Linked DNA regions of Homo sapiens: region 2 is linked to region 1. The links are contacts of gene promoters, found by promoter capture Hi-C in blood cells and fetal thymus (Javierre and others, 2016). All regions are on one chromosome and are shown on one strand. The core of a region is centred on a gene start or on the middle of the fragment in contact, and the rest is flanking DNA. Distances in the headings are between cores, read along the strand shown. Region 1 holds the start of PLOD1 (procollagen-lysine,2-oxoglutarate 5-dioxygenase 1). Region 2 overlaps MTHFR (methylenetetrahydrofolate reductase).

What was found. The method cuts DNA at HindIII sites, captures the fragments that hold promoters and counts their contacts. A CHiCAGO score of 5 or more calls a contact.
Region 2: a fragment that was not itself captured here is called in contact with the fragment with the promoter of PLOD1 in region 1 in 1 of 17 cell types (neutrophils); the score reaches 5.3 in neutrophils.

Annotation. Positions count from the first base shown.
Region 1 is chr1:11,931,161-11,937,361 of GRCh38, reverse strand. It overlaps PLOD1 (procollagen-lysine,2-oxoglutarate 5-dioxygenase 1), which reads right to left and starts at 2,645. Exons shown (of 19, transcript NM_000302.4): 1 at 2,507-2,645. The coding sequence starts at 2,582. RefSeq lists a silencer at 2,367-2,836 and enhancers at 2,013-2,936, 3,057-3,106, 2,937-3,862. The HindIII fragment of the contact is 16,832 bases long and covers 1-6,201 here.
Region 2 is chr1:11,795,073-11,799,860 of GRCh38, reverse strand. MTHFR (methylenetetrahydrofolate reductase) reads left to right here. Exons shown (of 12, transcript NM_005957.5): 5 at 3,462-3,655; 6 at 4,513-4,763. Among named protein-coding and RNA genes, the nearest start is that of MTHFR, 8.5 kb to the left of the region's middle. The HindIII fragment of the contact is 888 bases long and covers 3,095-3,982 here.

The DNA.
Region 1 (6,201 bases), core at 1,396-3,895:
GGCCTTTCATGGGCCAGGCATTGAGCTGAACTCTCCCCAACTTCATCCCCTGGAATTCTTGTTAGAGCTCCAGGCGTGAGGTAGTATCACCGGGTCTTGCAGGCTAGAACACCAAGCCTCACAGAGAGCAAGCACCGCCGGCTTTACCACTGGGAGACGTGGGGCCTTGGGCACAACCTGGTCCGAGGGAGGTACTCAAGAAATGGCAGTTCCTGGCCGGGCGCGGTGGCTCACGCCTGTAATCCCGGTACTTTGGGAGGCCGAGGTAGGCGGATCACCTGAGATCAAGAGTTTGAAACCAGCCTGACCAACATGGTGAAACCCCGTCTCTACTAAAAATACAAACATTAGCTGAGCGTTGTGGCATCCGCCTGTAATCCCAGCCACTAGGGAGATTGAGGCAGGAGAATCGCTTGAACCTGGGAGGCGGAGGTTGCAGTGAGCTGAGATCGCACCATTGGACTCCAGCCTGGGCAACGGGAGTGAAACTCTGCCTCAAAAAAAAAAAAAGAAAGAAAAGAAAAGAAATGGTGGTTCCTGGCTGGGTGCAGTGGCTCCCACCTGTAATCCCAGCACTTTGGGAGGCCGAGGCAGGAGGATCACTTGAGGTCAGGAGTTTGAAACCAGCCTGGCCAACATGGCGAAACCTCGTCTCTTCTAAAGATACAAAAATTAGCTGGGCGTGGTGGTGCAGGCCTGTAATCCCAGCTACTTGGGAGGCTGACGCACGAGAATTGCTTGAACCCAGGAGACAGAGGTTGCAGTGAGCCAAGGTCATGCTACTGCACTCCAGCCTGGGGGACACAGTGAAACACTGTCTCAAAAAAAAATTAAATAAATAAAATAAAATAAATGGTGGTTCCCATTCCTGACCCAAAGAACCCGGGATCCTTCTGGTGATACAGTTTCAGGTTCTCCAGGAGGGTAAGCTGAAGGAGGAGAATGCCATGGAAAGTACCGCCACTTCTGCTTGGCTTTGCTGGGACTGTCCGCAGTCTATGCCCTTCTCGGGACAGCCCTGGAGATGGCCCATGCCAGGGAGGGCTGGGGAGGAGGGAAGCACCCACTCAGGACAGTGGGGCACACACTGCAATCCAATCTGCCTTGAGGAAGTAGAAAGAGCGCTAGACTGGAGCCCAGCTGACCTCGGACCAACCACCTCTGTCTGGACCACCCTGGACAGTCACTTCACCTGTCTGGGCCTCAGTTTCCTCAAGTATAAACTGCAGAGAGGGCCAGGTGTGGTGGCTCACGCCTGTAATCCCAACACTTTGGGAGACCAAGGTGGGCTGATCACCTGAGGTCAAGAGTTCAAGACCAGCCTGGCCAACATGGTGAAACCCCATCTCCACCAAAAATACAAAAATTAGCTGGGCATGGTGGCACATGTCTGTGATCCCACCTACCTGGGAGGCTGAGGTACAGGAGTCGCTTGAACCGGCCGGGCGCGATGGCTCACGCCTGTAATCCAAACATTTTGGGAGGCTGAGGCCAGCGGATCAAGAGGTCAGAAGTTCAAGACCAGCCTGGCCAGCATGGTGAAACCCCATCTCAACTAAAAATACAAAAATTAGCTAGGCATGGTGGCACGTGCCTGTAATCCCAGCTACTTGGGAGGCCGAGGCAGGAGAAACACTTGAACCTGGGAGGTGGAGGTTGCAGTGAGCTGAGATTGTGCCACTGCATTCCAGCCTGGGCGACAGAGCGAGACTCCATCTCAAAAAAAAAAAAAAGAATTGCTTTTACCTGGGAGGCAGAGGTTGCAGTAAGCCGAGATCGCATACTGCGTTCCAGCCTGGGCGACAGAGCAAGACTCTGTCTCAAAAATAAATAAATAACTAAATAAATAATACATTAAGTAAAATAAAAAAAATAAACTGCAGAGAGGAAGACCACCCTGGCAGGGGCTAAGCAGACCACAGGGGACATGGATGAAAGCACAAACTTATCCACAAAGTGAGCCACACCTTCTACCCCCATTCCTCCCCTGTCCCCCTCAAGACCCCTCATTCCCATGGTCATGAGGCCTCCTGGCTCTGGAACCAGACACCTGGGTGGGTGGGGTAAATCCTGGTTCCAAGGCCCACAAGTTGTATGATCTTGGGCAAGTGAATGAACTCTGGAGCCTCAGTTTGCCCAGCTGGAAAACGGGGATAATAGAAGGAAACACTTACCAGGGTAGCAATCATGCCTAACTGATGCCTGGCCCATAGTGAGCACTGGGCAGAATAGCCATTGTCGGTTATTATTATGAAAACTATTATTATTTGAGCCTTTCTGTGCTGAATGGGACTCAGCTGTCACCCTTTCCTTCCCGAAGCAGGAACCGCAGCCCCAAGAGGGGAAGTGATTTGTTCAAGTCACCAGCGATTAAGTGGACAAGGAGCCGGAACCCAGACTCCCTCTCCAGCCCAGGCCTCCCATTCAGGTCGTTCCCAGGGAGGCAGCCCGACACCAGCCCTCCCGCCCGGATCCGCGCTCCCGCCCCCGGCCTTCGCTCCCTCACCCTCCGGCTTGGCGTCGCCCTTCGCTTCGGCCAGCAGCAGCCAGCCCAGCAGGGCCAGTAGCAGCAGGGGCCGCATGGCCGAGGTATGGGGGACGATCGGCCGACCCGGCGGCGCTCGCAGGGCTGGAAACTTCGCGACGGGGCCGCAGGTCCCGCTGCCACGCACTGGGCCCGCCCCGGGGGCGGCACCACCCCGCCCCTCCACGCCCTCCCCCGCGCCTGCCTAGTGGGGAAGGGTTTTTCTGCAGATATGCCCAAGTCCGGGCCTCTCCTTATTAGGGCAGCTCCCTCCGCCTCTCTGTGCAGCTCCCGGGGCTTCCGTCAGGCCCTGCCGTCTCCCTCCCTTCTCTGGGGGGTTCACTCCGACCAGAAAGAGGGCGGTGAGAGGAGAGAGAGGCCACGATTTCTAGACCCCAGGTTCTGGGCCAAGGCTCCATGGCATCGATAGCCACGAGCCCCTGTTTGCTCGCCTGAAAAGTGGGGCTTATGATAGCGTCTGTTCATTGGGTCTTGCACGGGTTAATGGCGTTACCTGTAGCGCACTTAGAGCAGCCCCAGGTCAAGCCCCAAGGAAGTCAGTTTTCATGATTTCATTAGTCCTTCCCAAAACCCAAGGGGTGAGGGTGGGCACGGATGCGTTCAGAGACACGGACACCCCTACGTGGCCCACCCAGGCACTGGAAATGCAGGAAGCCCGTCTCCACTCTCCCCAAAAGGCAATCACTTGATCTCCCTTTGTGTCCCTGGGAGGCAAACCTCTGAGCCAAGGAAAGTCTTGCTTCTGAGGTTTTTTTGTTTTTTGTTTTTTTTTTTTCATTTTTTTGAGACAAGGTTGCTTTCAGTTGCCCAGGCTGGAGTGCAGTGGCGTGATCACCGCTTGCTGCAGCCTCGACCTCCCGGGCTCAAGCGATCCTCCCATCTCAGCCTCCCAAGTAGGTGGGATCACAGGCCTGAGCCACCATCCCTGGCTAATTTTTCTACCTTTTTTTTGAGACAGAGTTTCACTCTTGTTGCCCAGGCTGGAGTGCAACGGCGAGATCTGGGGTCACGGCAACCTCCGCCTCCCGGGTTCAAGCAATTCTCCTGCCTCAGCCTCCCGAGTAGCTGGGATTACAGGCATGTGCCACCATGCCCAGCTAATTTTGTATTTTTAGTAGAGGTGGGGTTTCTCCATGTTGGTCAGGCTGGTCTTGAACTCCCACCCTCAGATGATCCACCCGCCTTGGCCTCCCAAAGTGCTGGGATTACAGGCTGAGCCACCACACCCTAGAGAGATTAATTGTTAAATGAGTAAACGAATCGATGAAAGTTTTTAGGGCCTCTTCACAGATACCCAAAGCCCAACAAACAACTCAACGGTCTCTAGAGTAAGGGCTCCTGGACCAGATGTCAGACAGGGGCAGCCACCTCTGAACAAAAATCCTTCCTTCCTTGGAAGAAACCTCAGACAGAGGCCGGGCACGGTGGCTCACACCTGTAATCCCAGCACTTTGGGAGGCTGAGGCGAGCGGATCACAAGGTCAGGAGTTCAAGACCAGCTTGACCAACATGGTGAAACTCTGTCTCTACTAAAATACAAAAATTAGCCAGGCGTGGTGGCGCGCGCCTGTAATCCCAGCTACTCAGGAGGCTGAGGCAGTAGAATCACTTGAACCCAGGAGACTGAGTTTGCAGTGAGCCAAGATTGAACCACTGCACTCCAGCCTAGGCGACAGAGCGAAACTCTGTCTCAAAAAAAAAAAAAAAGAAAAAAAAGACCTTAGACAGGGACCCAGGAGCCTTCTCCCAGCTGATTAGGCTCCAGAGGAGTGGGTGGCAGGTGTAACCCTAGGCTGGCAGGGGGTTCCCTGCAGGGGGCAAAGGGGTGGGAGAGAAGGAATGTCACGAATGTCAATGGACGACAAAGAGCAGGCTATGCGTCTGTGCTGGGAAAAGATATTAATAAATCAACAGCATTCAGATGAGCTGGGTGCGGTGGTTCATGCCTGTAATCCCAGTACTTTGGGAGGCCAAGACAGCCAGATTGCTTGAGCCCAGGAATTCAAGACCAGCCTGGGCAACATGGTGAAACCCCTTCTTTACTAAAAAAACAAAAATTAGCTGGGCATGGTGGCATGTGCCTGTAGTCCCAGCTATTCAGGAGGCTGACTGGGGAGGATCACTTGAGCCCGGGAGGTGGAGGTTGCAGTGAGCCATGATCACACCGCTGCACTCCAGCCTGGGCAAGAGAGTCAGAACCTGCCTCAAAAAAAACAAACAAACCAAAAAATAAAAATAAAAACAAAATAGCATTCAGATGCTGCAGCCAGAGAAATACACTACCCATATGATGTTAAGTGGAAAAGCAGAATATATAGTATGGTTCCACTCAGTAAAAATACCTTCTTTTTTTTTTTTTTTGAGATGGAGTCTCACTGTATAGCCCAGGTTGGAGTGCAGTGGCACAATCTCAGCTCACTGCAACCTCCGCCTCCCTGGTTCAAGCAATTCTTTGCCTCAGCCTTCCGAGTAGCTGGGATTACAGGTGCCTGCCACCATGCCTGGCTCATTTTTGTATTTTTAGTAGAGATGAGGTTTCACCATCTTGGCCAGGCTGGTCTTGAACTCCTGACCTCGTGATCCACCAGCCTCGGCCTCCCAAAGTGTTGGGATTATAGGCGTGAGCCATCGCGCCCAGCCAAAAATATATTCTTATCGATGTATACATGCATAGAGACAATGCTAGGAGAAAATTATGGCCAAATATTTACTGTGATTATTTCCAGGTTGTGGGATTATTTCATATTTATATAGACAATTTTTGATGTTTTATATTATTTCCAAGTATTTATTTTGTTATTTATATTTTTCTTTTTTTTTCAATAAATATATACTATTTGTAAAATTCAAACAAAATCGGCGGGGCATGGTGGCTTATGCCTGTAATACCAGCCCTTTGGGAGGTGGAGGCAGGCAGATCACCAGACGTCGGGATTTCAAGACCAGCCTGACCAACATGGAGAAACCCTGTCTCTACCAAAAATACAAAATTATCTGGGCATGGTGGCGCATTCCTGTAATCCCAGCTACTTGGGAGGCTGAGGCAGGAGAATTTCTTGAGCCTGGAAGGCGGAGATTGCAGTGAGCCGAGATCGCACCATTGCACTCTAGCCTGGGCAACAAGAGCAAAACTCCGTCTTGAAAAAATATATATATATATTCAAACAAAATCAATACATGCTATTTTTAGAATATAGGTCCAGGCCGGCACAGAGACTCATGCCTGTAATCCCAGCACTTCGGGAGGCCAAGGCAGGAGGACTGCTTGGGCCCAGGAGTTCCAGACCAGCCTGGACACTATAGCAAAACCCTTCCCCCATCTCTATTAAAAAAACAAAGATAGAGTCAGTCACTGGGAACCTTGGAAATCATCTCATTGTGTGGAAATCATCTCATTGTATGGAGATGTGCTCATTGCACAGATAGCACAAGTGATATCCATAGGCATGGGGCAGCAAGCTCAAGGTCCCAAGGCAAGTAAAAGGAAGAGGCCTGAGCAGAATCCAGGGCCCCTACCTCCCAGCTGGGATCCAGGGCTGGGAGTTTCAGCATCTGGAGACAGGACTTGGTGCCAGAATCCACCGGATGTTTTGGATTCAGGAGGATGCAGACTCAGACTCCAGACCCCTGGAGGAAGAGGAAATGCCAGGAGGAGC
Region 2 (4,788 bases), core at 2,289-4,788, 140 kb after region 1:
CAGGAGTTTGAGACCTGCCTGGCCAACATAGCGAAACCCCGTCTCTACTAAAAATACAAAAATTAGCCAGGTGTGGTGGTGCACGGCTGTAGTCCCAGCTACTCAGGAGGCTGAGCCAGGAGAATCTCTTGGACCCAAGAGGCGGAGGTTGCAGTGAGCCGAGATGGTGCCGCTGCAGTCCAGCCTCAGTGGCAGAGCAAGACTCCATCTCAAAAAAAAAAAAAAAACAACACCCCACAAAAGAGGGATATTTACTAACAGGATTCCAGAGGGCAGGGAACCCAAGATCAGGAGATGGCCTCAGACCTCACAAGGCACTGGAAGAGGTCAAAAAGCAAGGCCCTCCCTCATTCCCTCTGGGGCCACAGGGTCCCCCATCTCCGCTTCCCACTGCACATCTGTGCTTCATCTGGGAGACCTGATACCCATGCTTTTCCACACACCTGGCCTGCTCCTGAGTGTGCAGAGTGTCAGTTCCAGCCAGTTCCCCAGGCTAATGGACAGGCCTCCGTTCCAAATTCCCAGGAAAGAGAATCACCATTGGCCACAGCCACAAGACCAGGTTCCCCCAACAGAAATGGGTGGGTTGGACTTCTCTCCCACCCTTGAAGCTGAAGGCTGGCATTGAGCCCTCAGCGTCTCAGACAGCGCTCAGGTATGGCAAGACAGTGTGCACCAGGGACAGGAAGTCCCGGGATTGGCACATTTTCTGGGATGACAGTTTTTTTGCCAATATTCTGGGAGAAATCCTACCATTTTTATATTAAACATGGCTATGTTATGGAGTAGCATCTAAAGTGATATGAACTAAAAAAAAAAGGCCAGGTGCGGTGGCTGAAGCCTATAATCCCAGCACTTTGGGAGGCCAAGGCGGGTGGATCATGAGATCAGGAGTTTGAGACCATCCTGTCCAACATAGTGAAACCCCGTCTCTACTAAAAATACAAAAATTAGCCGGGCATGGTGGCGCGTGCCTGTAGTCCCAGCTACTTGGTAGGCTGAGGCAGGAGAATCGCTTGAACCCAGGAGGCGGAGCTTGCAGTGAGCCGAGATCGCACCAATGCACTGTAGCCTGGGCAACAGAGCCAGACTCCGTCTCAAAAAAAACAAAACAAAAAACCCAAAAAACAAACCACGTGGCTTCAAGAAAATTACATGTTGTGAGTAACTTTGGCCTTGTCCCTAACCCCCGATGGACATGTCCATTCTGTCAACAGGGGTGTTTAGGTGCTAAGTCTGGGAAGCACTGATTAGGAGTCAGAGAACAGACATTTCCAACTGTTAAATTGTCATCGCTTGTATCAGCCATTATATAGTCAGTTACTGGGGGAATATGCACCCGTGATGGGCGTTAGGTGATAATGATTGGAAACTAGTGAAGCTGTGAGCTCACAGTTGCTGAATGGTTTCTTACTTTGCTTATCAAGTGGGTAATGAAGATGAGTGGATTAGAAAACACCAACCTGTTGGGCATGGTAGCTCATGCCTGTAATCCCAGAGCTTTGGGAGACTGAGGCAGGAGATCAAGACCAGCCTGGGCAACACAGTGAGACCGTGTCTCTACAAAAAATAAAAACATTTTAAAAAAGAAAGCCCTCAGCTGTTCATGATAGAAAAATAGAGTAAATAGCAAAATCTATACGTAATCAAATGCTAGATTTGTTCGGTGATATTTAGGTATTGTAGCTATACTTTTCAGCTATTAAAAAGCCTTGTTGTTTCTGAAATTCCTACTGGGAAAATAGCTTTGTTATTGCAAGTGTGAAGCCCCATTGCTTTATCCCCCACTCCCTTACCCCTTGAAACAATAGTTTTTATATTCATTTTTTGATGACTCTGGGTTTCTTAAGAACGGAACTGCCTTATCAGAGCAAAGCAGCTTGGCCTTCCGCCTGGCTCAGAGTCCTGCCCTGGGCTTGGGCTGATGAAACCAGCACTCCATGTAGTTTCATGAAGGCCTATGGTCATCCTGCTTGCCTGACCGAGCAAGGCGGCTAGTAAGTTTAGTCATTGAGGAAAGGGGTCAGAGAGTTCACAGAGCCAGTAAGGAGCCTATGGGACATCTGATCCCACCTCCTAAGCAATTCTGGAATCTTGTCTTCAGCATCCACTGCCCCTGTGTTTTCAGACTCCAGGAGCTCATTGTTTTGTGAGTGGCTTATAGTACTCTAGCCAGCTCTCTGAACCGGATGCTGGTTCTGCCATTAGAAACAACACAGAATATGACTAATAAAGAACTTCACTAGGGGGCTGGGTACAGTGGCTCATGCCTGTAATCTCAGCACTTTGGGAGGCCAAGGTGGGAGGATTGCTTGAGCCCAGAAGTTCCAGACAAACCTGGACAAGATAGCAAGACCCCATCTCTAAAAAATAAATAATTAATTAAAAAAATTTTTTTTAATTAGCCAGATGTGGTGGCTTGCATCTGTAGTCCAAGCTACTCAGGAGACTGAAGTGGGAGATCACTTGTGCCCGGGAGTTCAAGGCTACAGTGAGCCATGATTGTATCACTGCACTCTAGCCTGGGTGACAGAGCAAGACCCTGTCTCTGAAACAAAACAAAACAAACTCACCTATGGTGGATCCTTTTTCCCCAGGACAGACCTTTGGACATTTGAAAGGAGTTTCTGTATTCTTTTCATTCTTTTTTTTTTTTTTTTTTTTGAGACGGAGTTTCGCTCTCGTTGCCCAGGCTAGAGTGCAATGGTACGATCTCGGCTCACTGCAACCTCTGTCTCGTGGGTTCAAGCAATTTTCCTGACTCAGCCTCCTGAGTAGCTATTACAGGCATACACCACCACACCTGGCTAATTTTTGTATTTTTGGTAGAGACGGGGTTTTACCATGTTGGCCAGGCTGGTCTCGAACTCCTGACCTCAGGTCATCCTCCTGCCTTGGCCTCCCAAAGTGCTGGGATTACAGACATGAGCCACCGCACCCTGCCATCCATTATTTTCTTTGAAGAAAACATCACTTTCTTCAGTTCTTCCTTGTGTAACTTGGTTTTTAGCTTTTCACTATCTTGGACCCCTGAGTAATTTCAGTGTTACATTAAAAACAATGTTTAATCCGGTGCCTAGAGAAAAGTCAAGCTTACTACCCCAGATGCTGCCCAGCCAGTGCTAACTGTAGCATTTTCTCTTTTCTATGGCCACCAAGTGCAGGCCTGATTTGCTTGGCTGCTCAAGGCAGGACAGTGTGGGAGTTTGGAGCAATCCACCCCCACTCTTGGAACTGGGCTCTGAGCCACCTCCCCTGAGAGTCATCTCTGGGGTCAGAAGCATATCAGTCATGAGCCCAGCCACTCACTGTTTTAGTTCAGGCTGTGCTGTGCTGTTGGAAGGTGCAAGATCAGAGCCCCCAAAGCAGAGGACTCTCTCTGCCCAGTCCCTGTGGTCTCTTCATCCCTCGCCTTGAACAGGTGGAGGCCAGCCTCTCCTGACTGTCATCCCTATTGGCAGGTTACCCCAAAGGCCACCCCGAAGCAGGGAGCTTTGAGGCTGACCTGAAGCACTTGAAGGAGAAGGTGTCTGCGGGAGCCGATTTCATCATCACGCAGCTTTTCTTTGAGGCTGACACATTCTTCCGCTTTGTGAAGGCATGCACCGACATGGGCATCACTTGCCCCATCGTCCCCGGGATCTTTCCCATCCAGGTGAGGGGCCCAGGAGAGCCCATAAGCTCCCTCCACCCCACTCTCACCGCACCGTCCTCGCACAGGCTGGGGGCTCTGGGTGGAGTGCTGAGTTCGCTGAGTTCTTCCCAGATCTCCTCTCAGGTCCAGAACTTGCACAGCGTTGCTTGGCCACCCCATTTTGGTTACCTCTAATTTTCCCCCCAAAACCCAGCAACAGTGTCTGTTGAGGGGTTTGTTGTACTTTGGCCAACAAGCATCACCAAAAGGGATTCTAATTCTCATTACAAATCCTGCTTAAATCAGTGTTTCCCAAAGGTGGCTGTCATCAGAACCACTTGATAAGCTTTTTCAAAAAGTGGATCTCCAGGTCCCACCCCTGGAGGTTCTCACTCAGTAAATCTGAGGGAGGTCCTCGGAATGTGTGTTTTACTTCTTGAGCTTGGCAGGTGATTCGGATGATCAGTGCAGCATGGGAACAGCTGGGTTAGATGACACCATGTTACCAACAGACACATCTAGGGCTAAAAGGCTGGCTCAACCCAAGGCTGGAATGCTTAGGGCAGCTGCTCTACTCTGTAAAAAGTGGGAAAGCTGGGCATAGTGGCACGTGCCTGTAGTCCCGGCTACTTGAGAAGCTGAGGCAGGAGGATGGCTTGAGCCCTGGCGTTTGAGAGCAGTGAGACTCAGTCTCTAAAAACAGAAAAAAGAGGAGAAAACGGCAGGCCAAGCCCAGGTGTGCTCCTAGAATATGATCGGACTTTCGTGGGTCCCTCTGCCTGACACTGTGGTTGGCATGGATGATGGAAGGGGGAGAAGTATTTAGGGTGGGAGACGGGCTGGCCAGCAGCCGCCACAGCCCCTCATGTCTTGGACAGGGCTACCACTCCCTTCGGCAGCTTGTGAAGCTGTCCAAGCTGGAGGTGCCACAGGAGATCAAGGACGTGATTGAGCCAATCAAAGACAACGATGCTGCCATCCGCAACTATGGCATCGAGCTGGCCGTGAGCCTGTGCCAGGAGCTTCTGGCCAGTGGCTTGGTGCCAGGCCTCCACTTCTACACCCTCAACCGCGAGATGGCTACCACAGAGGTGCTGAAGCGCCTGGGGATGTGGACTGAGGACCCCAGGTGAGGGCAGTGGCCCAGAGATCCC